Linked DNA regions of Homo sapiens: regions 1, 2, 4, 5, 6 and 7 are each linked to region 3. Evidence: promoter capture Hi-C in 16 types of primary human blood cells and fetal thymus (Javierre and others, 2016). All regions are on one chromosome and are shown on one strand. The core of a region is centred on a gene start or on the middle of the fragment in contact, and the rest is flanking DNA. Distances in the headings are between cores, read along the strand shown. Region 1 overlaps NF2 (NF2, moesin-ezrin-radixin like (MERLIN) tumor suppressor). Region 2 overlaps NF2 (NF2, moesin-ezrin-radixin like (MERLIN) tumor suppressor). Region 3 holds the start of LIF (LIF interleukin 6 family cytokine). Region 4 overlaps NF2 (NF2, moesin-ezrin-radixin like (MERLIN) tumor suppressor). Region 5 holds the start of NIPSNAP1 (nipsnap homolog 1). Region 6 overlaps NF2 (NF2, moesin-ezrin-radixin like (MERLIN) tumor suppressor). Region 7 holds the start of CABP7 (calcium binding protein 7).

Evidence for each region. Contacts are between HindIII fragments. The CHiCAGO score rates a contact against its expected background, and 5 or more counts as called.
Region 1: a contact is called between a fragment that was not itself captured here and the fragment with the promoter of LIF in region 3, in 1 of 17 cell types (M2 macrophages). The highest score is 6.1, in M2 macrophages.
Region 2: a fragment that was not itself captured here is called in contact with the fragment with the promoter of LIF in region 3 in 1 of 17 cell types (M0 macrophages); the score reaches 5.5 in M0 macrophages.
Region 4: a contact is called between a fragment that was not itself captured here and the fragment with the promoter of LIF in region 3, in 6 of 17 cell types (M2 macrophages, M0 macrophages, M1 macrophages and 3 more). The highest score is 10.2, in M2 macrophages.
Region 5: the fragment with the promoter of NIPSNAP1 here is called in contact with the fragment with the promoter of LIF in region 3 in 1 of 17 cell types (neutrophils); the score reaches 5.9 in neutrophils.
Region 6: a fragment that was not itself captured here is called in contact with the fragment with the promoter of LIF in region 3 in 1 of 17 cell types (M2 macrophages); the score reaches 5.5 in M2 macrophages.
Region 7: a contact is called between the fragment with the promoter of CABP7 here and the fragment with the promoter of LIF in region 3, in 6 of 17 cell types (M1 macrophages, M0 macrophages, erythroblasts and 3 more). The highest score is 12.1, in M1 macrophages.

Annotation. Positions count from the first base shown.
Region 1 is chr22:29,641,144-29,644,961 of GRCh38, forward strand. NF2 (NF2, moesin-ezrin-radixin like (MERLIN) tumor suppressor) reads left to right here. Exons shown (of 16, transcript NM_000268.4): 4 at 1,059-1,142. Among named protein-coding and RNA genes, the nearest start is that of NF2, 39 kb to the left of the region's middle. The HindIII fragment of the contact is 9,111 bases long and covers 1-3,818 here.
Region 2 is chr22:29,619,747-29,623,344 of GRCh38, forward strand. The region is part of intron 1 of NF2 (NF2, moesin-ezrin-radixin like (MERLIN) tumor suppressor); the gene reads left to right. Among named protein-coding and RNA genes, the nearest start is that of NF2, 18 kb to the left of the region's middle. The HindIII fragment of the contact is 427 bases long and covers 1,439-1,865 here.
Region 3 is chr22:30,244,760-30,248,359 of GRCh38, forward strand. LIF (LIF interleukin 6 family cytokine) reads right to left here and starts at 2,000. Exons shown (of 3, transcript NM_002309.5): 1 at 1,918-2,000; 2 at 1-174. The coding sequence starts at 1,936. LIF-AS2 (LIF antisense RNA 2) reads left to right here and starts at 1,451. Exons shown (of 1, transcript NR_148946.1): 1 at 1,451-2,234. RefSeq lists an enhancer at 1-450. The HindIII fragment of the contact is 10,846 bases long and covers 1-3,600 here.
Region 4 is chr22:29,686,805-29,690,223 of GRCh38, forward strand. All of the region lies in intron 15 of NF2 (NF2, moesin-ezrin-radixin like (MERLIN) tumor suppressor), which reads left to right. Among named protein-coding and RNA genes, the nearest start is that of CABP7-DT, 31 kb to the right of the region's middle. RefSeq lists enhancers at 1,420-1,921, 1,922-2,421, 2,641-3,141 and a silencer at 2,994-3,225. The HindIII fragment of the contact is 1,644 bases long and covers 440-2,083 here.
Region 5 is chr22:29,579,529-29,583,371 of GRCh38, forward strand. NIPSNAP1 (nipsnap homolog 1) reads right to left here and starts at 1,585. Exons shown (of 10, transcript NM_003634.4): 1 at 1,457-1,585. The coding sequence starts at 1,554. RefSeq lists an enhancer at 746-1,358 and a silencer at 1,342-1,391. The HindIII fragment of the contact is 18,053 bases long and covers 1-3,843 here.
Region 6 is chr22:29,665,077-29,668,575 of GRCh38, forward strand. NF2 (NF2, moesin-ezrin-radixin like (MERLIN) tumor suppressor) reads left to right here. Exons shown (of 16, transcript NM_000268.4): 10 at 3,257-3,370. Among named protein-coding and RNA genes, the nearest start is that of CABP7-DT, 53 kb to the right of the region's middle. The HindIII fragment of the contact is 4,563 bases long and covers 1-3,499 here.
Region 7 is chr22:29,717,786-29,721,679 of GRCh38, forward strand. It overlaps CABP7 (calcium binding protein 7), which reads left to right and starts at 2,218. Exons shown (of 5, transcript NM_182527.3): 1 at 2,218-2,748. The coding sequence starts at 2,640. It overlaps CABP7-DT (CABP7 divergent transcript), which reads right to left and starts at 2,118. Exons shown (of 3, transcript NR_186695.1): 1 at 1,763-2,118. RefSeq lists an enhancer at 3,527-3,894. The HindIII fragment of the contact is 23,163 bases long and covers 1-3,894 here.

The DNA.
Region 1 (3,818 bases), core at 318-2,817, 600 kb before region 3:
GGATGTTCTTGCAGTTTTTCTATAGCGTTGCTTTTTCCCCCCTCTCTTTGGAAATGAAACCAAGGGATTAGAAAGTTGCACTGCTTGAGAAACATCTCAGGTTTCATTTTCTCTCTAAGAATGTAAAATCACTTTTAAAACCTAAGAAGAATTTTTGTGTTTGAACGTAAACACCTAACAATCTCCTAGGTCCCAGAATGTCCTAATGTTATAGAAATGGCTTTCTTGTAAGTACTTGGAAGCACTGCCTGTCTCTTGTGTGACTGACTTGATTTTCCCCATACTGAAATGTTAAGGCATTTTTATGACTGAGCAAGGCAAAATTTACTGCTTTTATGAATCCGGTGACTGTTGACATCTGTGAGAGGAGAGCTGGCTTTCCTGCTGTGTTTATTTCAGTGTCCCCCTGCCACGTCATGCAGTTGTCTTGCTTCTGTGTCTGGAACATCCCAAGTTGCACCATTCTAAGAAAATTAAGTGCAATGAAATATGTTAATTCAACATTATGGCTTAAGAATTATATTTCCTGGACCTCACGTGTACTTAAAAGTTGAATCGATCAAATTTTATTGCTTCCTTTTCCCTTAGAGCAGCACGTTGAGAGTGATGGTTTTTTCTGCAATCATAACTCAGTGGCCTTGGTGACTTTTGTCTTGTGTTAATACTTAAAAGTAGATCCATTTCCTCTGGGGCCATGCATATTCAAAGGGGCTGAGGCTGTAGTCATCCCCAGAGCTGCTCTTGACACTTCTTGAGTTCATAGCGCTCTGTCACACAGCCTCTGTTGTAACTACAGAGACCGTTTTTACTCTTCAGCATTGATCATGAAGAGAAGAGATAAGGGGTTTTTATGCATAGCCGTCATACCAGTAACTTCTGTGACTGAACTCTCCACCTGTCTGCATCAGTAAAAAAAAAATTGTACCCTTTGTCAGAAAATTATTAACAGGCTGCTCTGGCAGCCCTCATTAGAACGCCGTGAGGCCATCTGTTGTGATCAGCCTACACACCTCACTTCCACTCACAGAGTATCATGTCTCCCTTGTTGCTCCTTTCAGGTAAAGAAGCAGATTTTAGATGAAAAGATCTACTGCCCTCCTGAGGCTTCTGTGCTCCTGGCTTCTTACGCCGTCCAGGCCAAGGTAGGCTCAAAGAAGAAAAATGTATTTTTCCTGGGCGTTAATTTGGGTCATGGGATCACTCCTATCTTCTCTTTCTTTGGGTTTTCTGTACTTCAGAGAGACTTGCCCCAGAAAGTGAGATGTTATGGGACTTGTGGACTTGAAGAACCACTGTCACTGTTCCAGTGTTTGTATAATCTTGTGTGTGTATGTGTGTGTGTGTGTATGTGTGTGTGTGGTGTGCAGAAATTATAAGTATCGTTCTAATGAATTAGAATTCATTCTAAGTGAATTCATTCAGAAAGATGAATTTCCTGTGTAATCTCATTATGTACATGTGGTTTATGACATTTACTGGAAAAACCTTTTTTCTTTTTTTTTTTTAAACCATAAACTCAACCATGTGGTACAACCTTTCTATTAGCCAGGAAAAATGAATTTATGGTCTCCAATTTTAGCCAAACATGGCCTTTAGGTCAGAAAGGCCCAGGTCCTCACTCCAAACTCATTTGCAAACAAGCTGCCTTGTGTGTGGACACTACACTACACCTTCAGAGAATGCCCTGCTTCATCTGCCCCTGATTGACATGCTAGCTGTTCATGTGGCTAAGCACTGCAGGTGCTGTGGCCCACCAAGCCCACTTGAGCTGTCTGGTTAGCTGAAAATCGTTCACTTCCGTTAAATCACTATAGACCTTTTTTTTTTTTTTACAAGACCGATGAGAGGGTTAGCCACGGAGTTTCATGTCCCTCAGATTTTTCACTTCAGTCATATATCACCTTCTCTTGGTTCCCCTGATCCCTGCCTTTCACCAGAGCACAAGATGTTGTCCCCAGAATTGGGGCTCCTTGATTACTTGTGTGATTTTATTTTATTTATGTTTTATTTGTATTTTTATAGAGATGGGGTCTCACTATGTTGTCCAGGCTGGTCTTGAACTCCTGAGCTCAAGTGATCCTTCCACCTTGGCCTCCCAAAGTGCTGGGATTACAGGTCTGAGTCACCATGCCTGGTCTTACTTGTGTGATTTTTTTTTTTTTTTTTATTGATCATTCTTGGGTGTTTCTCACAGAGGGGGCTTTGGCAGGGTCATAGGACAATAGTGGAGGGAAGGTCAGCAGATAAACAAGTGAACAAAGGTCTCTGGTTTTCCTAGGCAGAGGACCCTGCGGACTTCCGCAGCGTTTGTGTCCCTGGGTACTTGAGATTAGGGAGTGGTGATGACTCTTAATGAGCATGCTGCCTTCAAGCATCTGTTTAACAAAGCACATCTTGCACCGCCCTTAATCCATTTAACCCTGAGTGGACATAGCACATGTTTCAGAGAGCACAGGGTTGGGGGTAAGGTCACAGATCAACAGGATCCCAAGGCAGAAGAATTTTTCTTAGTACAGAACAAAATGAAAAGTCTCCCGTGTCTACTTCTTTCTACACAGACACGGCAACCATCCGATTTCTCAATCTTTTCCCCACCTTTCCCCCCTTTCTATTCCACAAAGCCGCCATTGTCATCCTGGCCCGTTCTCAATGAGCTGTTGGGCACACCTCCCAGACGGGGTGGTGGCCGGGCAGAGGGGCTCCTTACTTCCCAGTAGGGGCGGCCGGGCAGAGGCGCCCCTCACCTCCCGGATGGGGCGGCTGGCCGGGCGGGGGGCTGACCCCCCAACCTCCCTCCCGGACGGGGCGGCTGGCCTGGCGGGGGGCTGACCCCCCCACCTCCCTCCCGGACGGGGCGGCTGGCCTGGCCGGGGGGCTGACCCCCCCACCTCCCTCCCGGACGGGGTGGCTGCCGGGCGGAGACGCTCCTCACTTCCCAGACGGGGTGGCTGCCGGGCGGAGGGGCTCCTCACTTCTCATATGGGGCGGCTGCCTGGCGGAGGAGCTCCTCACTTCACAGACGGGGCGGTTGCCAGGCAGAGGGTCTCCTCACTTCTCAGACGGGGCGGCCGGGCAGAGATGCTCCTCACCTCCCAGACGGGGTGGCGGCCGGGCAGAGGCGCTCCTCACATCCCAGACGGGGCGGCGGGGCAGAGGCGCTCCCCACATCCCAGACGATGGGCGGCCGGGCAGAGACGCTCCTCACTTCCTAGATGTGATGGCGGCCGGGAAGAGGCGCTCCTCACTTCCCAGATGGGATGGCGGCTGGGCAGAGACGCTCCTCACTTTCCAGACTGGGCAGCCAGGCAGAGGGGCTCCTCACATCCCAGACGATGGGCGGCCAGGCAGAGACGCTCCTCACTTCCCAGACGGGGTGGCGGCCGGGCAGAGGCTGCAATCTCGGCACTTTGGGAGGCCAAGGCAGGCGGCTGGGAGGTGGAGGTTGTAGCGAGCCGAGATCACGCCACTGCACTCCAGCCTGGGCACCATTGAGCACTGAGTGAACGAGACTCCGTCTGCAATCCCGGCACCTCGGGAGGCCGAGGCTGGCGGATCACTCGCGGTTAGGAGCTGGAGACCGGCCCGGCCAACACAGCGAAACCCCGTCTCCACCAAAAAAATACGAAAACCCGTCAGGCGTGGTGGCGCGCGCCTGCAATTGCAGGCACTCGGCAGGCTGAGGCAGGAGAATCAGGCAGGGAGGTTGCAGTGAGCCGAGATGGCAGCAGTATAGTCCAGCTTTGGCTCGGCATGAGAGGGAGACCGTGGAAAGAGAGGGAGAGGGAGACCATGGGGAGAGGGAGACCATGGGGAGAGGG
Region 2 (3,598 bases), core at 402-2,901, 630 kb before region 3:
GGTCTAGGACAGGCAGGGGTGAGTGATGAGTGCGTGCGTGCTGATGAAGGGGTGCGAAGAAACAGATGCTGGCTAGTGCTGCCCTCCACTGGACCCCATTCTGCCTTTGTGTGGGACAAAGGGCTAGGGACTAGCAGTTACTTTGTGCTAGGTACCATGCTAAATGCTTTAAATGCACACTACCTCATTTGATATAACAGGGACTCATTTATTCATTCAAGAGATATTATAAAATAGGCTAGGCACAGTGGCTGACACCTGTAATCCCAGTGGGAGGCCGGGGTGGCCAGATCACTTGAGGCCAGGAGTTCGAGACCAGTTTGGGCACATGGTGAAATCCTGTCTCTACTGAAAACACAAAAATTAGCCAGGCGTGGTAGTGGGCGCCTGTAGTCCCAGCTACTCCGGAGGTTGAGGCAGGAGAATTGCTTGAACCTGGGAGGTGAGGGTTGCAGTGAGCTGAGATCGCGTCACTGCACTCCAGCCTGGGCGACAAGAGCGAGACTCTGTCTCAAAAAAAAGACAATAATTAGGCGTGGTTGTGCGCACCTGTAGTCCTAACTACTTGGTAGGCTGAGACAAGAGGATCACTTGAGCCCAGGAGTTCGAGGCTGCAGTGAGCTATGTTCGTACCACTGCATGAAGCCTGGGTGACAGAGTGAGACTCTGTCTCTTTTATTTATTTGTTTTTTAAATAATAGAGACAGGGTTGGCCGGGCATGGTGGCTCATTCCTGTAATCCCAGCACTTTGGGAGGCTGAGGCAGGTGGATCCCTGAGGTCAGGAGTTCAAGACCAGCCTGGCCAACATGGGAAAAACTCGTCTCTACTAAAAATAGAAAAATTAGCCGGGGGCAATGGCATGTGCCTGTAATTCCAGCTACTTGGGAGGCTGAGGCAGGATAATTGCCTGAGGTGGAGGTTGCCTGAGATTGAGCCACTGCACTCCAGCCTGGATGACAGGGAGAGACTCCGACTCCAAAAAAAAAAATAGAGATGGGGGTCTCCCTACGTTGGTTGCTCAGGCTGGTCTCAAACTCCTGTGCTCAAGGGATCCTCCTGCCTCAGCCTCCCAAAGTGCTAGGATTATAGGTGTGAACCACCACACGCAGCTCTGATTTACTGGGTGCCCACGTTGACCAGGCAGGGAACACCTCCTAGCAGTGATCAAGGACTACTTTGGACCTAGGTTCTGTAACTGACTTCATCTTTAAGTGGGGAAACAGAGGCTCAGACAGGATACATAGCATGCTTAAAGGCTTAGTGCAGCCACTATCTATTCTGAAAGAGGCAGAATAGGACAGGGACAGGTAGGTAGTGAGAGAATAGGGAGAATAGATGGGCACACCCTTTAACTTAATATCGACCAGTAAAGCCTGCAGTTGCTTATTTGAACCTCACATTGAGGCTGACATGTAAGTTGAGCAAATCTTAACTCAAGCTTCAGTTTCCTTGTTGGGGCCGCTGAGGCAGCATAGCCTAGAGATTACAAGCATAGACTTCAGAGTTTGATTCCTGGCTCTGCCTCTAACCAGCTTTGCAACCTTAAAGCTCCTTAACCCCCTCACATGCCTCTGTTCCCTAACTGTAAAATGGTGAATGTAATTAATTCTTCCTGCATAGTGTTACAAGAATTAAATTTGAGTAATTACTGGTAAAGTACGTAGAATAGTACCTAACACAAGATAAGTGCTATATATAATGGTTGTTACCTAAAGAAATAACAGCCTGGGCAACATGGCGAAACCCTATCTCTACAAAAAATACAAAAATTAGCCGGTTGTGGTGGTGTGCACCTGTGGTCCTAGCATCTCGGGAGGCTGAGGTGGGAGGATCACATGAGCCTGGGAGGTCGAGGTTGCCATAAGCTTCCTGATTGCACCACTGCACTCCAGCCTGGGTGACAGAGTGAGACCTTGTCTCAAAAAATAAATAAATAAAATAAATTAAAAAAATAAAAAGGAAATAAGTTCAGTGCCTGTCGTTAGCTTGCTCCCTTTCTCAGCCTCTCCTCCACTTCCTCACGCACCCTCTTGCTCTGAGCCTATTATCCTGGTCCCTCCTTCACACTGCCACATCTTTGCATAGGCTGTTCTCTTTGCCTGGAATGCCATTCTCATTTGTTGCTTGGCAGAACTGAACTCATTCTCCTTCTAGGCTCTGCTCAAGGGTTTCCTCTTCTTTGTGTCCAAAGTCACCACATAGCTTCTAAGTGATGGGACTGAGATTTGAAGCCAGGTCATCTGTCTTTCAGGCCAGCCCTCTTTCCACTACCCTATGCTACCCAAATAGGAAGCGTAAAAGAGAAGTAGGAGAGAAAAAGTTAGAAACCTGGAGAGAACTTAGGTATTTGGTAAACAGGAAAAAGAAAGTGGAAAGAAGAGATCATTTGAAGGACTTCCTCAACTTAACAACTATTTGCCTATGGCATTATTTTATTGCATTTGGTGTATGATACTATCTCAAAAGCATTTTGTAAACTTGCCAGTGGCTTACATTTTTGCCGGATGAATGACATGACTAACGATCCGTGCTACATTACCTCAGTGTCTAGTTTGTCATTTTGAATCAAGTGGACATTTTCTGTAAGTGAATCATTTTCACTTGCTCATGATATAATGAGAATTCCTTACCTTTGGCTTAAAATGAGGCTTATGTTATAACAGTTAAGCATTGTCTAGTTGCATATTTAACATAGTCAGAATGCTCCTGCCTGTATTCAGCCTGGTGTCTTATAATATTTGGTATGCCCACCTAGATAGCAATTGGTAACATCTTTATTCTGAGACTCTTTCATGTATGGATTTTGAAAAGTTAGTTAACTGTTCAGACGACATTGTTTCTTTGACTTTTACAATCCGCTTCCCTCTCACTGACAGTTCAGTTTTGGAAGACCCTGTATTTTTTTTTTTTTTTTTTTTTTTTTTTGAGACAGAGACTCGCTCTGTCGCCCAGGCTGGAGTGCAGTGGCGTGATCTCTGCTCACTGCAACCTCCACCTCCCGGGTTCAAGCAATTCTCTTGCCTCAGCCTCCTGAGTAGCTGGGATTATGGGTGTGCACCACCACACATGGCTAATTTTTGTATTTTTAGTAGAGACGAAGTTTCACCATGTTGGCCAGGACGGTCTCGATCTCCTGACCTTGTGATCAGCCTGCCTCGGCCTCCCAAAGTGCTGGGATTACAGGCGTGAACCACCGTGCCCGGCCTTTTTTTTTTTTTTTTTTTTTTCGAGATGGGGTCTCACTCAGACTGGAGTGCAGTGGTGCTATCACAGCTCACTACAGACTTGACCTGCTGGGCTCAAGTGATTCTCCTGCCTAAGCCTCCCAAGTAGCTGGGACTACAGGCACATGCCACCAATACCTGGCTAATTTTTTTGAAGAAATGGGATCCCGCTATGTTGCCTAGGCTGGTCTGGAACTTCTGGGCTCAAGCGATCCTTCCGCCTCAGCCTCTCAAAGTGCTGGGATTACAGGCATGAGCCAACATGCCCAGCTAGAGATGTGTGTGAATTGGTAGCTTCAAGCTAGATATTGGAGGCTCATGAAGCCCAGGTTAAAGAGGCTTGTATTCATCAGATGCGATGAAGAGCTTTGA
Region 3 (3,600 bases), core at 750-3,249:
GAATAAAGAGGGCATTGGCACTGCCATTGAGCTGTGCCAGTTGGCTCCTGATCTGGTTCATGAGGTTGTTGTGACATGGGTGGCGTATGGCACAGGTGGCGTTGACAGGGGTGATGGGGAGGGGGCTCCCCGCCCCATGTTTCCAGTGCAGAACCAACAGCAGGGGCACAACTCCTGGGGACAGTCAGGAAGAAGCCATGAGTAGAAAGGCAGGAAAGGGTGGCCTGGGGTCATGGCACACCGGATGGGGGTCCAACAATGGCCGCATGGGAGAGGACTCCTGGTTCCCCCTCACCACCTGCAGCTGTCTTCCTGGGGCCTAGTCTTCACTCTGTCACTGCGTGTGTTTCTCTGTCTCCCTTTCTCTACCTTAGTTCTCCCTGCTCTCTTCTGGGATGACGTAAAGATGAGGGCAAGACACAAGCCATTTCCACCCAAAGGGTGCAGGGTCCAGGAGAGACTCCCAGCCATCCCACCCTTTCCCTCAGGAAGGCAAAGGTCCTAAGGCCCCCTGGCCCTCTGGCTGGAAGGCACCAGGCCCCAGGCCCAGCAGGCACCAGGAGAAAGGAGACCCCTCTCTTCCCACCTCCCGTGGTGGCCCAGGTTCCTCAGCAGCGCTTCCCACTCACTGGCCCATTGCAGCCCAAATCTCCGAAGCCAGGCACCCATGGGGGCCACGGGGCATGGGGGAGTGGGGAGGAGTCCTCGGTTGACCCTCATCTCCCTCCCAAACCTGCCACTTGATTCTGGCTCCCTGGGCCAATTGCCCCCAATTCTGCCCCCGCCCCCATCATCCTCTATCTCTTCCTTCCCTAGTGTCCCCTATCTCACTCAAGCTCACCCCATTTCTGCCTGGCTGTCCCCACTCTCCATCCCCAAATCATCATTCAAAACTCTCTGTTCCCCCAGCTCCGGACAGCCCCTGACTCCATGCCTTCTCCCGACTCATCCGCTGTCCCTTGTCCCAGGGGTTCCCCTCCCTCCTAACACACACACACCGGCTCAGGGAGGGAGAGGAAATGGTGCACCAGGAGAGAGAAAAGGCAAAAGGTCATAGGCAGTCGGGTGGGCGGGGAGGAAGGAAAGTGAAAGGTGACAGGAGAGCTGGGAGCTGTCCCGACATGTCCTGGTTTGCCCCTCCCCCAGGGGGGCCTGTTCTCCCGACTCCCCCCAGGCCCCCTTAGACGCTTTTCCAGGGCTCTGCAGAAGGGCACCTGAAGATGGTGGGGGCCGGGGTCAGCGGGCGAGTGAGGCTGGAGACCTCCCCCGGATCCCCCATGCTGGAACAGCGGGGACAGGGGCCTCCTCAAGTTCACTTCTCCTGGGTCCCCTGTTCGTCCCAGCATCCCAAGGCAGTGCTGAGGCCCCGGGGTGGCTGCGGGAGGGGGGCCACACCCCTATATCTCACCTAGCGCAGACCACACGCTTCCAGACACCAGCAGATGGAGGCGGCACCTGCTCCCGTCCCAGGCCGGAGTTTGCAAGCTGCTCGCCGCCCGCGCCCCTCCCTGGGAGCAGCCCGGGACCGCGGTTGGAAAGGAGAAAGCGGAAAGAAAGAAAGAAAAGAAAAAGAGAGAGGGAGAGTGAATCTGGGAGAAAGCGCAGAGGGAAGAGCAGCCAGCGAGTGTCCGGAGCGAGGAGGAGGAGGAGGAGAAGGAGAGGGGGAAGAAGAGGAGGAGGAGGAAGGCTCGGCGCCCCCTCCCTCGCCGCCAACCTGCCGCGGGGCGTGCGGTGCTTGGGACCATGTGCCCGCGCTCGCTCCGGGCCGCCACCCAGCGCCTCCGGTGGCTGCGCGGGCGCCCCAAGTGTTCGTGTGTCTGCGGCGGGTGGGCGTCCGGCTCGCGCTGCCAAGCGCCCCAAGTTGCCGCCGCGCCCCGCAGCGGGGACGCGAAGCCGGCGCGGGGCGGGTGTATTTACCTGCCGCCAAGACCTTCATTATGGGCTGCACTTCAGAGGGCCTTGGAGGAAACCTCAGATGCCGGCAGTTTTCAGAGGTTCATGCTCAAATGGGGAATTTGCCTGATTTATATACTGGAGCCTGTGTTGTAAGACAGAAACAGCTATATTTAGCCGGGATCCCCAGTCCAGGAAGTTGTTTGAGGTGCATCATAGGAAATTATGAATGGAAGAAAGTGAGAGTGAAGGGGGGGGACGAGTGAGGGGGGAGGGTGGGGAGAACAGACTTTTTCCCTCTTCTAAGAATTTGATTGATAAAATTATAATGAAGCCTTCGACAAAACGCCCTGTGGTTTTCCTGCCTGGCTTGTCCCGGGAGTTGTCTGAAGATGGGCATCGCCAGGAGGGGGCCCCTGGCCGAGTCAGCAGGGGTCCCAGCAGTGGGCGCCCCAGACGGCCCTGACTCACCTGGGTTTGGGGAGGTAGCGAGTCTGGACTAGCAGATGGAGACTGGCCCCTGTGCCCCCTGGTTGGGGGGCTTTAGGGGGGCAGTGGGAGGAGGAGGGCTAGGGCTTGGCTGAGAAGGAGGCTCCAGGAGGAGGGGCCGGGGCCGGCGTGGACTTTAGACGGTCATAAAGTGGAACTGAACATGGGCGCTGGAAGCCACCCCAGAGGTAGCCTCCTCCAATCTGCACATTGCCACTGGGCCCCAAGGGGCTCCGAGGGGAACACGTTGCCCAGGGCCCCAGAGGGTCAGGCCTCCAGACACCACCAGTGCACTCGCCCTGCTGACCACTGTACCTGTGAGGCTGGGGAAGGGGCTAGGAAGACATGGGGGTAGGGGTGACTGACTCAGTTCTGTCGGGACACTCTGGGAAGGTGCTTCTGGGAAGGCGGTCCAGCATTTCCATTCTGAAGCAGGACTGAGAGAGGCTTGGCGAAATCGTACCCCAGTTTCCTCCTCCGGGTGCTGATTGATGGTTGGGGAAACTGAGAAGTGGCTGGTCCCTTCCAGACCTGCCTTGGAAGCCCCTTTGAGCCCAGCCTCAGAGAATGATGGAGGTCCCCAAAAAGTGCTTCTAGAGGCTCTAAGGCAGTGTCACATGTTCTGGCGTCTTCTGAGGCCAGGCGATTTGTGAATGAGGAAGGGCAGAAAGGAGCAGTGGGGAGCCGGGCAAAATGAGCACAGGGACACCTCCAAGAAATGCAACAGAAAAGTGAAAATAAATACACCCTATGAGATGCGGGAATGCCGGCCAGACAGCATGGCCACGCGTCTGGGGCCATGCCGTCCCTAAAGCTGCCAGGGGACCCCCAGTACCAGGAGATGATTTAGTCCCCTGTGGCCCCTTCCCAGCCCTTCCGCCTGACCCTGACCTGAGATCAAGGTGTGTGAGTTGGTTTTCCAAGGCCAGGGAGCTCTTGCAGCCTCGCCCGGGCCCCCACCGCCCCCTCGCCCATCCTCCATGCCCCCAGTTCCTGCCTCTTGCCACATCCCAGACCTGCCCAGCCACGGGTTCCTCCTTCATCGTGCCAGGACGAGCCCTGGTGCCTGCTGCCGTTCCCCACCACACACACACCCTGCTTTATCTACGCTCTTGCCCCCCATTCTCTCCCAGCAGGGCCTCGGATGTGAGGTGATAAAACTGCCCATCCCAGCTGGCACTTCCCGAACTGGCTCTCCTTCCTCCTTCCTGCCTCTCA
Region 4 (3,419 bases), core at 12-2,511, 560 kb before region 3:
CAGAGCAGTGCTAGCGATCAAAAGCCGCCCTGGGGAACCTGGAATTGTTTCATTCTCAGTGGGAGCGACACGTGTCCTGGCATCTGAGCCTTCCGAGTGAGGGGAGTGAGTCTGGCCATCAGGCTGGGGTTGAGGGACACAGGGTGCCTTGAGCCTGGCTTTCGTGCCTTCAGAGCCACAGTGCCAATGATGGGAGTGGTGGCTTGGTGTGGCGTAACTGTACCACCATACCTTGATGGTAGAATGCAGTCCTGGAATATATACATTCAGGGTCTTTCTTTCATCGCTTCTCAAGAGAGGGGTTTCAGTCTCCCGATCCTGAGCTGGTCTGAGTGCCAGCAAACAAAGTCATCACTTTTGTGCCTGTGGTCTCCCAAGGAGCACAGGATTTCCAAGGAAATTGACGGATGAGAAATCATGGGGGTGGTGGAGCTTAGAAAGCTTATTTCATTAGTAAATGGTTTGAACCGTCAAGGTCCAGCTGTGGTTTCCACTGATGGAGGAACAGGAAGAAGAGGAGCCTTGACATTTATCTCAAGCGCCAGCAGCTTCTCTTGGATCAGGAAGACATAAAAGTCCAATGTCATCTTCAATTTGTGCAGGCTCCCCTTGGAGTTGCAGAGCCAGTGAAGTGAAGTAGAACAGTTAAAAAAACACCCGGGGAAGTGATAAATCACAGAGAGAGATTGCATATGCGGGAAAGGTGTCTCCCACAATTAAAACAAGTGGCCAGAGCCTCCCTGGCGACCTCTGGTCTGCATTGCCAGCCCTGAAGATGGCTCCTAAATTACTTAAGTTTAATAGGTAGTTAATATAGCCAACCCTCCTTATGACCCCAGTGGGCTGAATGGCTCTGCTTGCTTTAGGAACTGGGCGTTGTATGGTAGAGCATCTTGGCCTTGACATAAAAGGTAGCATACTGGCTCCCCAGCCCTGAACCTTCCCTGCTAGAGCAAGGCAGGGGTGAGAGGGGGAAGGAAAGAAAAAGGAGTGGGGAGTGGGGTGGGGAGCAAGGATTAACAGGGAGCAGTAGCAGCACCAGATGTGGGCATAGCACACTGGGAAGAAATTGCAGTGGCGATCTGAACTCTTCCTCTCCGCCTCCTGGCTCTGTGGAAGCCCAGGGAAGGCATTAGGAACTGCAGGCTGCTCTTAGTGCTCCTCCCGGATGGGACACCTTGGGCTCATCCCTGAAGGCCACTCCTACCACTCTCACACACTGAGTTCCTGGTGTCTCGTAACTGTTGAGAGCTTAGTTTTCTTGCTTGTTTCTGGTAGCTCTAGATAGAAGACTGTATCGGCCTCTTCTAAAAGTCAACAAGCCAATCCTGTTTTTGGTTAAGAGACTTTACCTGGTCAAGCAGTTGTTCTTTGGGAGGTGTTGAAGAGCCTACAAACCTGCCTTGCCTGCCTAGGTACTTTACCACCATTTGGAGATGCCTGAGGATATTACCAGGCCTTATTTGAGGCAGTAAAACACCCTGTTCGGCCCCTCGGCACTGAAGATGTGTTTCAGTGCAGCTCTCCTCGGCACCGGATTCGTTGCTGCAACAGTGGGAGGGAAGAGCCAGATGCAAACTCGTTCTGCGAGCCCGAGGTTCTGTTCTCATGATCCTTGCTGTGATTTCTCTTTTGATGTTGGCAATTTTAAAATGACATCAGTCTATCTGGACCTTTTTCCTAAGGCTCTTGCTCAGACCACTCAGTAGATAGCCGCCACCTGCCCAGTGAGGTGAATCAGGCCCATTAGGCCATTTGTCAGGGGAAGGAACAGAGGAGCAGCGGAGGGCCCCGCCGGCCAGTGCCACAGGGCAGCCTGCAAAGCAGGTAGACAGGTTTTCAGGCAGCTTTTGCTGCTTTGGGTCCCTCAGGGATTAATACACAAAAAGGGCCCCTTGGGTATTCAGTGGCAGATTTCTCTTGAGAGCAGATAAAGTCGCTAATAACAAATTGGATTTGTTCATTGGGGTGGACTTGGCCTTTCGTTCCACCTCTGTGTAGGATAAGTGTGTGGATAGTGCTCCCACTGTGCACATCACCATATGGCATTTGGGTGCAGCTGTCCCTAGCCAGACTGCAGAAAAGCTTGATCTGGGCCGGACGCGGTGGCTTATGCCTGTAATCCCAGCACTTTGGGAGGCCGAGGCAGGCGGATCACGAAGTCAAGAGATTGAGACCATCCTGGCCAACATGGTGAAACCCTGTCTCTACTAAAAATACAAAAATTAGCTGGGCGTGGTGGCATGCGCCTGTAGTTCCAGCTACTCAGGAGGCTGAGGCAGGAGAATCACTTAAACCCAGGAGGCAGAGGCTGCAGTGAGCGGAGATCGCGCCACTGCAGTTCAGCCTGGCAACGGAGTGAGACTCCGTCTCAAAAAAAAAAAAAAAAAAAAAAAGAGAAAGTAAAGAAAAGCTTGATCTGGCCACTTAGTACAGCCATCCCCCTTTACTGGCCCTTCCTCTTTGCTTATTTGGAAGGGGGAAGGTTTCCCACACCCCAAACCAAAGATTCTTTTGGAATTTGCTGCTGCTGGATTCAGCTGTCACCTTTCTGCTCTGAGTCTGCTTTCTCCCTGTGGATCCGGTGCCAGAGGATCTGCACGTCCTTTTGTGTCTACACCCTCCCCCGCTCCTTCGTTTTCAATATGTAGTAGTGGAGAGGAAGTGTAACATGATTTTAGGGCTCACATTTCAATTCCACTGCATTTTTATGGGACAAGCAGAGACCCAGCGCCTGGAGTTATTAGGTTAGTATCTAAAATGGGTTCAGTACTGTGAGTCTTATTGTTTAAAATGAATGAGATGGTCCCCTCCTACCTTCTTTTCTCCTCCCCTGGGATGAGTGGATTGAGGCAAGGCCCCCAGAGACTAGTTGAAGGAATCCTGGTGCTCTGATTAGTTTTGTTCCCCAGCTTAATTGTACAGCTTCCTTTCTCTCACCACTGATAGCCAAAGTAGCTCTGTGTCTCCCCCAACCTTCCCTTGCTTTAGGAACAAGATGATCACAATGCAGCCTTGTGAATCAATTTTCTGTCTGTGCTGATGAAAGTGTAATTCATTCTTAATCAAGCAGCCTTGCTGCTGCAGGCTCCGTGCCGGAATACATTTAGTTACCCTCCCATCACTTTGGGAAACGATCCCCCAAAAGGGCTTTTAGAGGAGAGCTGGAAGGAGAGTTGGCCGTGCGCCTCATGCTGTGGTTTTCCAGCAGGGGGCACTCAGGAACGATGCTGGCGGAGGCTTTGTAGCTGGAAGCCGTCTGCTGCTGGCAGGGCAGCAGGAGAATGTTTGTCACAGGTGCCTTCCAGGCTTGCTTTCTCCAGACCCTGGGGCCATTTCTCAGAAGTACCCTAATGGGCCACCCAAAATCCTCAGGTAGCAGTGAGGAGGAACAGTTGAAGATGCAGATTGCATGCCTG
Region 5 (3,843 bases), core at 335-2,834, 670 kb before region 3:
CTCGTGATCCACCGCCTCGGCCTCCCAAAGTGCTGGGATTACAGGCGTGAGCCACCGCGCCCGGCCATTTTTGTACTTTTTATAGAGACAGGATCTCGCCGTGTTGCCAAGCTGGTCTTGAACTGCTGACCTCAAGTGATCTGCCTGCCTCGGCCTCCCAAAGTGCTGGGATTACAGGCATGAGCCACCATACCCGACCAACCACAGCATCTTTAATCCTCAACAACCCTATGAGATACATCCTGATTACTCCCATTTTACAGATGAGGAACCCGAGGCTTAAAGAGTCCTGAGGTCACCCCACCTACAAAGTCTGAGTTAGATCTGTTAGTGCCAGGCAAACTCTAGGCTTTTCCCACGGTGTCAGCTTTATCCCTAATTATTGGGCAGTCTAGGTGGGGCGCTTATGCCACTCCTCTTTCCCAGCTGTCCAAAAGCCCCACTGCTCTGTGCTGTAACATCTCATGGCAGGCACTATCAGAACTTTGCAGCTTCATTCCTGGGCTGCAGGGCAGGAGGGATGGTTGCTTCCTTTTCACAGGTTGGGGGAGGGGGAACAGGTGGCCTCACTTCTTTGGTAAATATTCCTTGACCATACACAGTCCTGAGCCCTCTGAGGGTGGGAGGCTGGGGAAACAGAGAAAAATGAGATCATGGTCTAGTGAGAGAGACAGACAAGCACCAAGTCATAACTGTGCAGGGTCATATATGCAGAGATGGGGGAAGTACAGGGCTGTGGGGACCAAGGAGTGAGGGGCTGCCCAGGGCCAGTCAGGGAGGCCAAGCCCTAGCTCAGCCCAGAGCAGGGCCCAAACAAAAGCCCAGGCTGAGAGCACATGGCCCAGCCAGACTCCCACTCCCAGGAGGCCACCAGTTGGGTGCAAAGTGCATGGCGCATTGGCAGGCCTGGGTCCCAGACCTGGTGCTGCCACGGCACAGCAGGGAGGGTGACCTTGGACAACTCCCATTCCCTCTCAGGTCCGTTTCCCCACCTGTACAGTTCGAGGTGGAGGAACAAAGGGTCTGTGCAGCCATGGCCCCTGGGGATCCCCCACTGCTCCCCTGCCATCATCTCTTTCCCACAGAACTTCCCGACGGAGGAGCTGACTACCAGAAGCCCCCAGTGGGTGTTAAATCACAAGCTACGCCTGGGAATGGGCCACTCCTCCTGTCTTCTGCCCTCTCCCACTCTCCAGGGCCCAGTACCTGCCCTTCTCACCATCTTTCATCAGGTCCCCATCACAGCCCGGTCCCAACCAGGACAAAGACCCTACCCATCCCTTTCTCACCTCCCCCATTCTTTGCCCAGACCCCTCCCTAGGCCTTGATCCTGCCCCGCCTCTAACCCCCAGATTCCAAGCGAGGAGTCTCAGCCCCTCCCCCACGACCCAGTCCCTGGCCCCCGCGCCTGCACCCCACCCCGCGCGCGTCTATCCCTGCCTGGCCGGGCTCTCACCGCGCCGCAGCTGCAGACGCAACGTCCCCAGCGCGAGGCCCCGGGCCCCCCAGCAGCCGCCGCGCCGTCACAGAGATGCTGCACAGCCGCGGAGCCATGTTGGAGCCGCAAAGGTTGCAGGAAGGCCCCGCCCCCAAGCCCTGGTGGCGGAGGCGGGGCGCGAATAAACTCCACCCCTCCGGCTCGCCCGCCCCCTCACTCACCCGGTCAGGTGGGCGTTTCCTGTGGGCGTCTCCAACTCCGCAGGTGCTGGACGGAAGTCAGGGTTCTAATCCTCTGCGCGCTCTGCGACCTTGGCAAGCCCTTTGCCCACTCTGGGCCTCAGGATCCACCTCGGTAAAATGGGAGCGTGGAACAATAATACCAAGGGTTCTTTTTTTTTTTTTTTTTTTTTTTGAGACGGAGTCTCGCTCTGTCGCCCAGGCTGGAGCGCAGTGGCGCGATCTCGGCCCACTGCAAGCTCCGCCTCCTGGGTTCACGCCATTCTCCTGCCTCAGCCTCCCGAGTAGCTGGAACTACAGGCGTCTGCCACCACGCCCAGCTAATTTTTTGTATTTTTAGTAGAAACGGGGTTTCACCGTGTTAGCCAGGATGGTCTCGATCTCCTGACCTCGTGATCTGCCTGCCTCGTGCTCCCAAAGTGCTGGGATTACAGGCGTGAGCCACCATGCCCAGCCTACCAAGGGTTCTTAACAAGGCTGTCCGGGATGTGCAGCAGAGGGTCAGTGTAACCACCCCATGGGTTCATTTTGCCCGTTTCCCAGACAGCGGATTTATCAAGACAGAGGAATTGCAATAAGAGTTTAATTCATGCAGAGCCGGCTGAATGGGAGACCGGAGTTTTATTATTACTCAAATCAGTCTCCCTGAAAATTCGGAGACTGGGTTTTATTAAGGATAATTTGGTGGGTAGGGGCCAGAGAGTGGAGAGTGCTGATTGGTCAGGTCGGAGATGCAATCATAGGGAGTGGAAGCCGTCCTCTTGTGCTGAGTGGATCTCTGGGTGGGGGCCACAAAACCGGATGATCCGGTTTCTTAATCTGTGTATCGCCAGCGGATCCATTGAGTGCAGGATCGGAAAAATATCTTGAGCACCAATCTTAGGTTTTACAGTAGTGATGTTATCCCTAGGAGCAACTGGGGAGGTTTAGAATCTGTGGCCACTACCTGCATGACTCCTAAACCGTAATTTCTAATCTCGTGGCTAATTTGTTAGTCTTACAAAAGCAGTCTGGTCCCCAGGCAAGAAAGGGGTTTATTTTGGGAGAGGGCTGTTATCTTTGTTTCAAAGTTGAACTATAAATTTGCTGCCGGGCATGGTGGCTCATGCCTGTAATCCCAGCATTTTGGGAGGCAAAGGTGGATCAGAAGTTTAGGTCAAGAGTTCAAGACCAGCCTGGCCAACAGGGTGAAACCCCGTCTCTACTAAAAATACAAAAAAATTAGCCAGGCATGGTGGCGGGCACCTGTAATCCCAGTTACTCGGGAGGCTGAGGCAGGAGAATCTCTTGAACCCTGGAGGCAGAGGTTGCAGTGAGCCGAGATCGCGCCACTGCACTCCAGCCTGGGCAACAAGAGCGAAACTCCGTCTCAAAAAACAAACAAAAAGACTGTAAGTTTGGCCTATGCCCAGGAATGAATATGGACAGTTTGGGGGTTAGAAGCAAAATGGAGTCGGTTAGGTCAGATCACTTTCACTGTCATAATTTTCTCACTGTTAAAATTTCTGCAAAGGGGTTGCATCAGTAAGCCCCCTGAAATTGTATACAACGTTACGTGCTCCTCTGTGGTGCATTCTCTGGGGAAAGGCATTCACATGCCAGGTTTATCACCATCAAAGAAACAAACTTCCTTACAAGTGAAGACAGGGGCAAGGCTGTCAGCTGCAGACACTTTATCTCCACCATCTCCTTTCCCCTTTTCATCCCCCTTTGACTTCTCTGCCTGAAAATCCTGGGGCCTCTTTCTGCCCTGCCCAGCTCTTTTGCCCGCCCTCTAAACTAATCCCTTCTCAGCCCACAATCCCCCAGATCACAGACATTGGCAGGGGTGGAGAGCCTGCAGACCCCACAGGGGGCAGGGGCTCTATCCACTTCCAAAGGGGCAGGGACAGCTCCCCAAAAGAATGTCCACCCACTGACTAGTGGTTGCCTCCTGTTATGCTTGGCATGGGGGGAGTGGAGGCCAGGCCATGATTGCACCACTGCGCTCCAGCCTGGGCAACAGAGCAAGACCCAGTCTCTATAAAAAAATAATAATAATTTTAAGATTAGGACCACGTGTGGTGGCTCATGCCTGTAATCCCAGCACTTTGGGAGGCCAAGGCAGGAGGATCTATGAAAATTCAAAAAATTAGCTGAGCATGGTAGCACACACCTGTAGTCCCA
Region 6 (3,499 bases), core at 1,000-3,499, 580 kb before region 3:
CCTGGTTTTCATTACTGATAATGGTAGCTTTTCTGAGAATTGAATACTTCTTTTTAAAGGATATCAGAGTGACATCTTGTGAAGTATAGAATGGTATCTCACTTGGCGCATACTTTCTGTTTAGCTTAAAGAGTTAAAACTAAATTATATCATGAAGAAGTTTTTTTTTTTGTTTTTTTTTTGAGACAGAGTCTCGCTCTGTCGCCCAGGCTGGAGTGCAGTGGCAGTGCCATCTCGGCTCACTGCAACGTCCGCCTCCCAGATTCAAGAGATTCTCCTGGCTCAGCCTCCCAAGTAGCTGGGATTACAGGCATGAGACACCATGCCCAGCTAATTTTTGTATTTTCAGTAGAGACGGGGTTTCACCATATTGGTAAGGCTGGTCTCGAACTCCTGACCTCAGGTGACCCATCCGCCTGGGCTTCCCAAAGTGCTGGGATTACAGTCATGACCCACTGCGCCCAGCCGATGAGGAATTTTTAAAAAGGATTTTTAATGCAGTATTTCATACATATAAAAGGATAAGTGTAACATATGAATTATAAAGAATAACAAAAGTGAATAGCTGTGTACCCACAACCCCACTTTAAGAAATAGCACAGTCCTGGCCGGGTGCGGTGGCTTACGCCTGTAATCCCAGCACTTTGGGTGGCCGAGACGGGTGGATCACAAGGTCAGGAAAAAAAAAAAAAAAGAAAAAGAAAAAGGAAAAAAGAAATAGCACAGTCCCAATACTGTTGAGACCCTTCATGTTAACACCCTGCTGGTCTCTCCTTTCCCTCTCCCCAAGGGTGATCACTGTTTTGAGTTGAGTATTCATCATCCTCTTGCTTTTCAACAGAATTTTATTTCATATATGGCAAAAGAAAAATACCATTCAATGTCATATGTTTATGAAATTTATCTAAATGCTGTCAAGTATATATATTCTTTTGTCATTTTCCTTTTCCTTTTTCATTATTTTTTTGAGATATATCTTTGTTGATGCTTAAAGATAGTCTGTTCATTCTCACCTCTGTAGCACTCTGTTATATATTTTTCTGATTCTTCTGTTAATGGATAATTAAGTGCTTTTTACTTCTATACTTTTTTTTTTGAAATGGGGTCTCACTCTGTTGCCCAGGCACAATCTCGGCTCACTGCAACCTCCGCCTCCCGGATTTAAGCAATTCTCCTGCCTCAGCCTCCTGAGTAGCTGGGATTACAGGCGGCCACTACCACGCCCGGCTAATTTTTGTATTTTTAGTAGAGATGGTGTTTCACCATGTTGGTCAGGCTGGTCTCGAACTCCTGACCTTGTGATCTGCCCACCTTGGCCTCCCAAAGTGCTGGGATTACAGGCGTGAGCCACTGCACCCAGCCACTTCTATACTGTTTTAACAGGCTGTTATGAAAACTTTTGTATCTGCCTCCTGGTGCACATAGGCAATAGTTTCTTTGGAGTCTTGAGTATACTGGGCTAGGTGGGGTGGCTCACGCCTGTAATCTCAGCACTTGGAGAGGTCAAGGCAGGATAACTGTTTGAGGCCAGGAGTTCGAGACCAACCTGGGCAACATAGCAAGACCCTGTCTCCAAAAAAATGAAAATAAATAAAATTTTTAAATAATAAAAAAGAGGGCCAGGCACAGTGGCTCAACTCCTGTAATCCCAGCACTTTGGGAGGCTGAGGCAGGCGGATCACCTGAGGTCAGGAGTTCAAGACCAGCCTGACCAACATGGAGAAATCCTGTCTCTACTAAAAATACAAAATTAGCTGGGCGTGGTGGCGCATGCCTATAAATCCCAGCTACTTAGGAGGCTGAGGCAGGAGATCGCTTGAACCCAGGAGGTGGAGGTTGCAGTGAGCCGAGATCATGCCATTGCACTCCAGCCTGGGCAACAAGAGTAAAACTTCGTCTCCAAAAAAAAAATAAATACATAAAAATAAATCAAAAATAGAGCTTAGAGTATATACACAGGAGTAGAAGTACAGGGCTTGGTATATGTTTAAATTTCAAAATTATGACACATTGTTTTCTAAAGAAGGTGAATCGATTTTTACAGACCCAACAGTAGTGGGTGAAGTTTGTTTTTTGCTATCCTTAATACTTGTATTATCAGCCTTTTAAAATTTTTGCCAATCTTGTGCATCTAAAATGGTATCTCATTATCAAATGAACTTTTTTTTTTTGAGATTTTGAGATAGGGTCTCACTCTGTTGCCCAGGCTGAAATGTAATGACACGATCATGTCTCACTGCAGCATGGACCTGCCCAGGCTCAGTGATCCTCCCACCTCACCCTCCCCAGTAGCTGGGACTACAGACACACACCACCATGCCCAGCTAATTTTTTGTATTTTTTTTATAGAGACAAAGTTTTGCCATGTTGTCCAGGCTTGTCTTAAACTCCTGGGCTCAAGCAATCTGCCTGCCTCCCCTTCCCAAAGTGCTAGGATTACACTTCCCAAAGTGCTGAGCCACCAGGTCTGGCCAAATGTTTTGAGTTTTTTGTGGAGATGGCGTCTCACTATGTCACCCAGGCTGGTCTTGAACTCCTGGGCTCAAGGATCCTCTCACCTTGGCCTCCGAAAGTGCTGGGATTACAGGTGTGAGCTACTGCACCTAGCCTGTTTTCTTTATTGGCTATATCTTCCAGTTTGTTGCTCTTTTTCTTTTTTTATGTCTTGACAATAAGAATTTTTAATTTTAATGTAGACAAATATATACATTTTTTCCTTAATCACTTTTTGTGTCTTACTTGGCATCTTCTCTTATCCTATGATCATAAAGATATTCTTCTATATTGTCTTCTAAAAGTTTCAAGGGCTTAATCTTTGCATTTAAGTATTTAATCCTTCTGGAGTTGATTTTTGTGTAAGGTGTAAGGGAGGGATACAACTTATTTTTTTCCACATGCATAACCTGTTGCCTCAGCCCAGCTTACTGAACGAGCTTTCCTATCCTCCCTGGTCTGCAGAACCACATCTTGATGTAGGAGAGTAAGGTGCACCCAGAAGACATGGTGAAGTGTCCTCCAGTCCTCTCTTGATTTATGATTTTTACCTCCTGGCATATCTGAGGCGCCTTCATTTTGCATGTTTCCAGAGCTGACGGCACTAGAGGCCACTAGTAGGGCTTTGGTGTTTCACTCTATGCATTCATCTTCACGTTTACTGCTACCTGCAAGAGCTCAAACTGCTATGGCACTAGTGGGCCAGTAGGCAGTGAAGTAAATTTGTGGATATTAACCTTTTTGTCTGCTTCTGTGGCCACAGATTCTCCAGCTATGTATCGGGAACCATGATCTATTTATGAGGAGAAGGAAAGCCGATTCTTTGGAAGTTCAGCAGATGAAAGCCCAGGCCAGGGAGGAGAAGGCTAGAAAGCAGGTGAGCACAACCTTGTTTTAACTGATGATGTCACTGTGTGGTCAGTCCTGGCCTGGGAGGCGAGGAGTGGTCATGGGCTGGCAGGAGTCTTTTGGCCGTGGACATACCTGCTCTTGTTTTATACCTTTT
Region 7 (3,894 bases), core at 968-3,467, 530 kb before region 3:
GTCCCAGCTATTCGGGAGGCTGAGGCATGAGAATAACTTGAACCTGGGAGGCGGAGGTTGCAGTGAGCCGAGATCATGCCACTGCAATCCAGCCTGGGCAACAGAGAAAGACTCCACCTAAAAAAATAAAAAAAAATACCCACCTGGACAGCAAGCCCAGGAGCTTCCCCTTCACAGGGCGAGTACCAACACGCTCTGCAGCGGCCTCCCAGGGAGTCACTGGGAGCTGGGTTTCCTGCCAGCCTCTCAGCAGGCTCTAGCCCACTCTCCCTTGGCCCAGGGGTTCTGATTTAGAACTGACAGGCCTGGGCTGGCACAGCCTGGACACTTAGTAAACGTGGAACGACTGAGCTGCTGCTGCGGCTCGCTCTCTCAATCAATACTCGAAGCTATAATTATTATTAATTCCTATTCCTTGGGGGGGATGTTCATGCTAATAGGAAACTCCCAAGAGTTTCAGGGAGGTGATGCCCGGCACCTTTCCTACATTATGTCACTTCATCCTCACCGCTGCCTGGGATGTGGCACTGCCACCTTAACAGGCAGGGAAACTGAGGCTATGGCCGGTTAAGGGACCTGACTGTAGTTCCATGGTGAGGAGATGGTGGATGCAGAAGCCCCAGTCTGCCTGGCTCTTGGTGCTGGGTTCTTACTTCCTCAAGTCTCTGCTCCATCAAAAACACTGGGGAAGCTCAAGGCATTCAGCTCTAGCGGTGGAAGGTCAGAAGATGGGACAGGTGGGCAAGGAGAGCTTTGGAGTGGGGTGGGAGCTTTTCTGGGGCCTCTCTCACCTCCAGGCCCAGGTCCCAGTGGGCAACCAGCTAGCCCGGAGAGGTCTGGGGAGACAGACAGACAGCTGGTGTCCTTCCTGGCTCCTCCGCAGGTTATAGATGTTTCTAGGAGCTCCCTCCAGAGCAGGGCCCAGGAAGTGCTGGGCCCAGGCTGACCCAACCCCGCTTGGCTGGGGCTAGCATCTCTCACTGAGCCCCTTCTCCCCAGACCCTGAGACAAGGCTGCGATTAATCAGTAACAAAAACAGAAACAAGCAGAAAAGTGTAATCAGCTTGGGAAGGGCAGGGCAGGACCGGGCAGGGCTGTGCAATCAGCGTTCCTGCTGGGACCTTTAGCTGATTGGGCCAAAGGGGGCAGGGAGGTGGTCCCAGTAGGGGGATTCAGGGAAGCACCCAGAGATGGGGCCACAGCCAGGCCAGAAGGTCACCCCCTCCCATGCACATCTGTGCACCATATGCCCACACCACTCCCAGCCCCAGGGCCTGCACACCTCCCCCGACCTGCCAGCGTACAACCTTGGCACACACAGGTGGCCACACACTCCCGACATTTGTCCATCTGCATATGGAGTCACAGACACCTGCGCACGTGCCCAGTGGCACATACACACCCTCATGGATAGCAGACATATGCACACGCAGGCTGCTCCCTCAAACACCTGCCCCCACCCCAGCTCTGGGGTGCCGACGTGCCCTGGGGCCTGGGGAAGCCCTGCACATACATTAGGTCTGAGCTGCAGCCATGTGAACTGGCAGGCCCTCACACCAGACCCCACAGGCACCGGGCCATGTCTCTGTCCCGAACTGCCCTGGGGGCCATGAGACACTTTGGCTCCTCTTCTGCAAGCTGAAAGGTAGGGGCTTGGGAAGGGTCCGGGACTGGGGCCCCATTGTGGGGAGCAAGGTCAGCGGCAGGGTGTCAGTCACAGGCAGGGCAGGAAGCCTACCCCAGACGTGTACCCAGCTCTTACCTGCTGCTCCTGCCCTGTGACCTTGGTCAACGTCCTTCTCTCTCAGCCTCAGTTTCCCCACCTTGGATCCTCCTGGCACGGAAACGGTGACTCTTCTTGAGGACCCAGGTGCTTGGGGCCAGTCTCACCTCTCTGGGTCTACAGTTCTTAGTTCCGGGCTCTCCGCTCCTGGTGCGTGGATGGGGGAAGGTGAGCCAAGGGGCAGGAAGGAGGACCCCCGCAACCCACCCCCTCCCTGGTCCTGGTGGCTGCAGACTTAGGGTGAGGAGAGCCAGTGAACAGAGGGGAGCCCTAGTGGGAAAGGGGAATCGGGGCCGAAGGGGAGAAGGAGCCCCGGGCAGGTTTGGGGCGGCCGCTCAGGGGCCGGCGGCGGGAAGGGGCGGGCTGGGGGTGGGGAGCGCGGAGGGGGCGGGCGGGCGGCTGGCGGGGGAGGCGGGGAGCGCAGCCAGCGCGGCACAGAACGAGCGAGCGAGCGAGCGGAGAGGCGGCTACAGCCTGAGCGCCGGGCCGGTAGCGGCCGCGCCGGCGAGCGGACTAGCGGGCGGCGAGCAGCGCGGAGCGCGCGGGGCACCGAGGAGCGGGCGCGGCGGGCACCGCGCGAGGCAGCCGGAGCTCTCGGAAAGGCCAGAGCGGCGCCGCCCCCGCTGCCCCTGCGGGGCCCCGGCTGGGAGCCCGACGAGGGAGCGGGCGGCATGGCCCGGCGGCCCGGGGCGCGGGGGCGCTAGGCCCCCGGAGGGGCGTCCCCAGCCTCGCCGCTGCCGCCGCCGCCCTCCGCAGCCGCGCGCCCCGCCCGCTCCAGCCGCCCCCGGGGCCGCCACCGGCCCATGAGCCCCGGCCTCAAAGTTTGCGGCGGGCGGGCGGGCGCGGAGCCTCCAAGATGCCGTTCCACCCGGTGACGGCGGCGTTGATGTACCGGGGCATCTACACCGTGCCCAACCTGCTGTCGGAGCAGCGCCCGGTGGACATCCCGGAGGACGAGCTGGAGGGTGAGTGTCCGCCGGGATCCCCGCCCCGGCGGCCCTCCTACCTGTGCGCCCAGGTGAAGCGCGGGCCAGGGGCGCGGGGGCGGGGGGCGGGGGGCGGTCCGCAGGTGCCGGTTGCCAGGTGGGCGCCCCAGCTAGCAGCTGTGCCCCGCGGCAAGACCTGTCCGCACCCCGGGGCGCCGCGGTGGGGGTCGCTCAGGCGGAGAGCGGCCCAGCCCCTGCCCGCGTGGTCCCCAGCGCTGCGGAAACTTGCCGGGCCCCGCAGCGGGGTCACGGGGCCGCGCAGTCGGCGGTGACGGTGCGGCAACGCGGCGGACTGGGGCGGGGGTCCGCGCTGAGCCCCCAGCGCCGGCCCGGCCGGAGCACCCGCATCCTGATCCCCTCCGCGGCGCCCGCCCGCGGCTCTCTGCTCGCATTGACATTCCGCTCGTGTCGCTTTAAAAATTCAATCTGCTCGGGCAGCAGCAGAAGGGGAGAGGGCGACTGCCCTGCTCTTGCCCGCTGCGGGGCCGCCCCCGTCCCCACCTGCGGCCGTAGCCCCTTCCCTGCAGCCCTGCGGGGACCCCCAGCCCGGCGCGCCGGGAAGGCGGCCCGGGAGGCGGTGGCGACAACAAGTGGCCGGACTGGGCGGCTAAGTCGCGATAGCCAAGCCTGGAAGGGAAAGGCAGAGAGGCCAGGACCCAAACCCGCCCCCACCCCGTTCCCCCTGCCTCTCAGACTCGCAGGGGGATGGCAGGCCGCTGGCTGGGCGAGGTCAGAGCAGAGGGCAGGGGCAGGGGTCCGGGACAGTGTGTCCTGAGGAGCAGTGAGACCCCTGGGGCCCGCCCAGCTCCTTCCCTGCTGGGCTGGGGGAGGTGCTGAGGTTTCCCCTCCCCCCAGACCTCCTGGAGCCCCCATATGGAGTGGAGTGGGGGATCTGGGCTGATGGGGGTCACGGCCTCCTGGGATCTGCATGTCTGCTGTTGCAAGGGGCTGAGCTCACCCAGAGGATGGGCCTCTCGGGGTACCTTGGATCCAGGGGTCTCTGAGATCTGGAGGCTCATTAGGGCCTGGGAGGGTGCAGCCAAGACCAGCACAGTCAGGGAGGATGGTGGGAGCCCAGGGGAAGCCATGGAGGGAGGTCCTCCCTCAACCCAGGCCCAGGGTGAG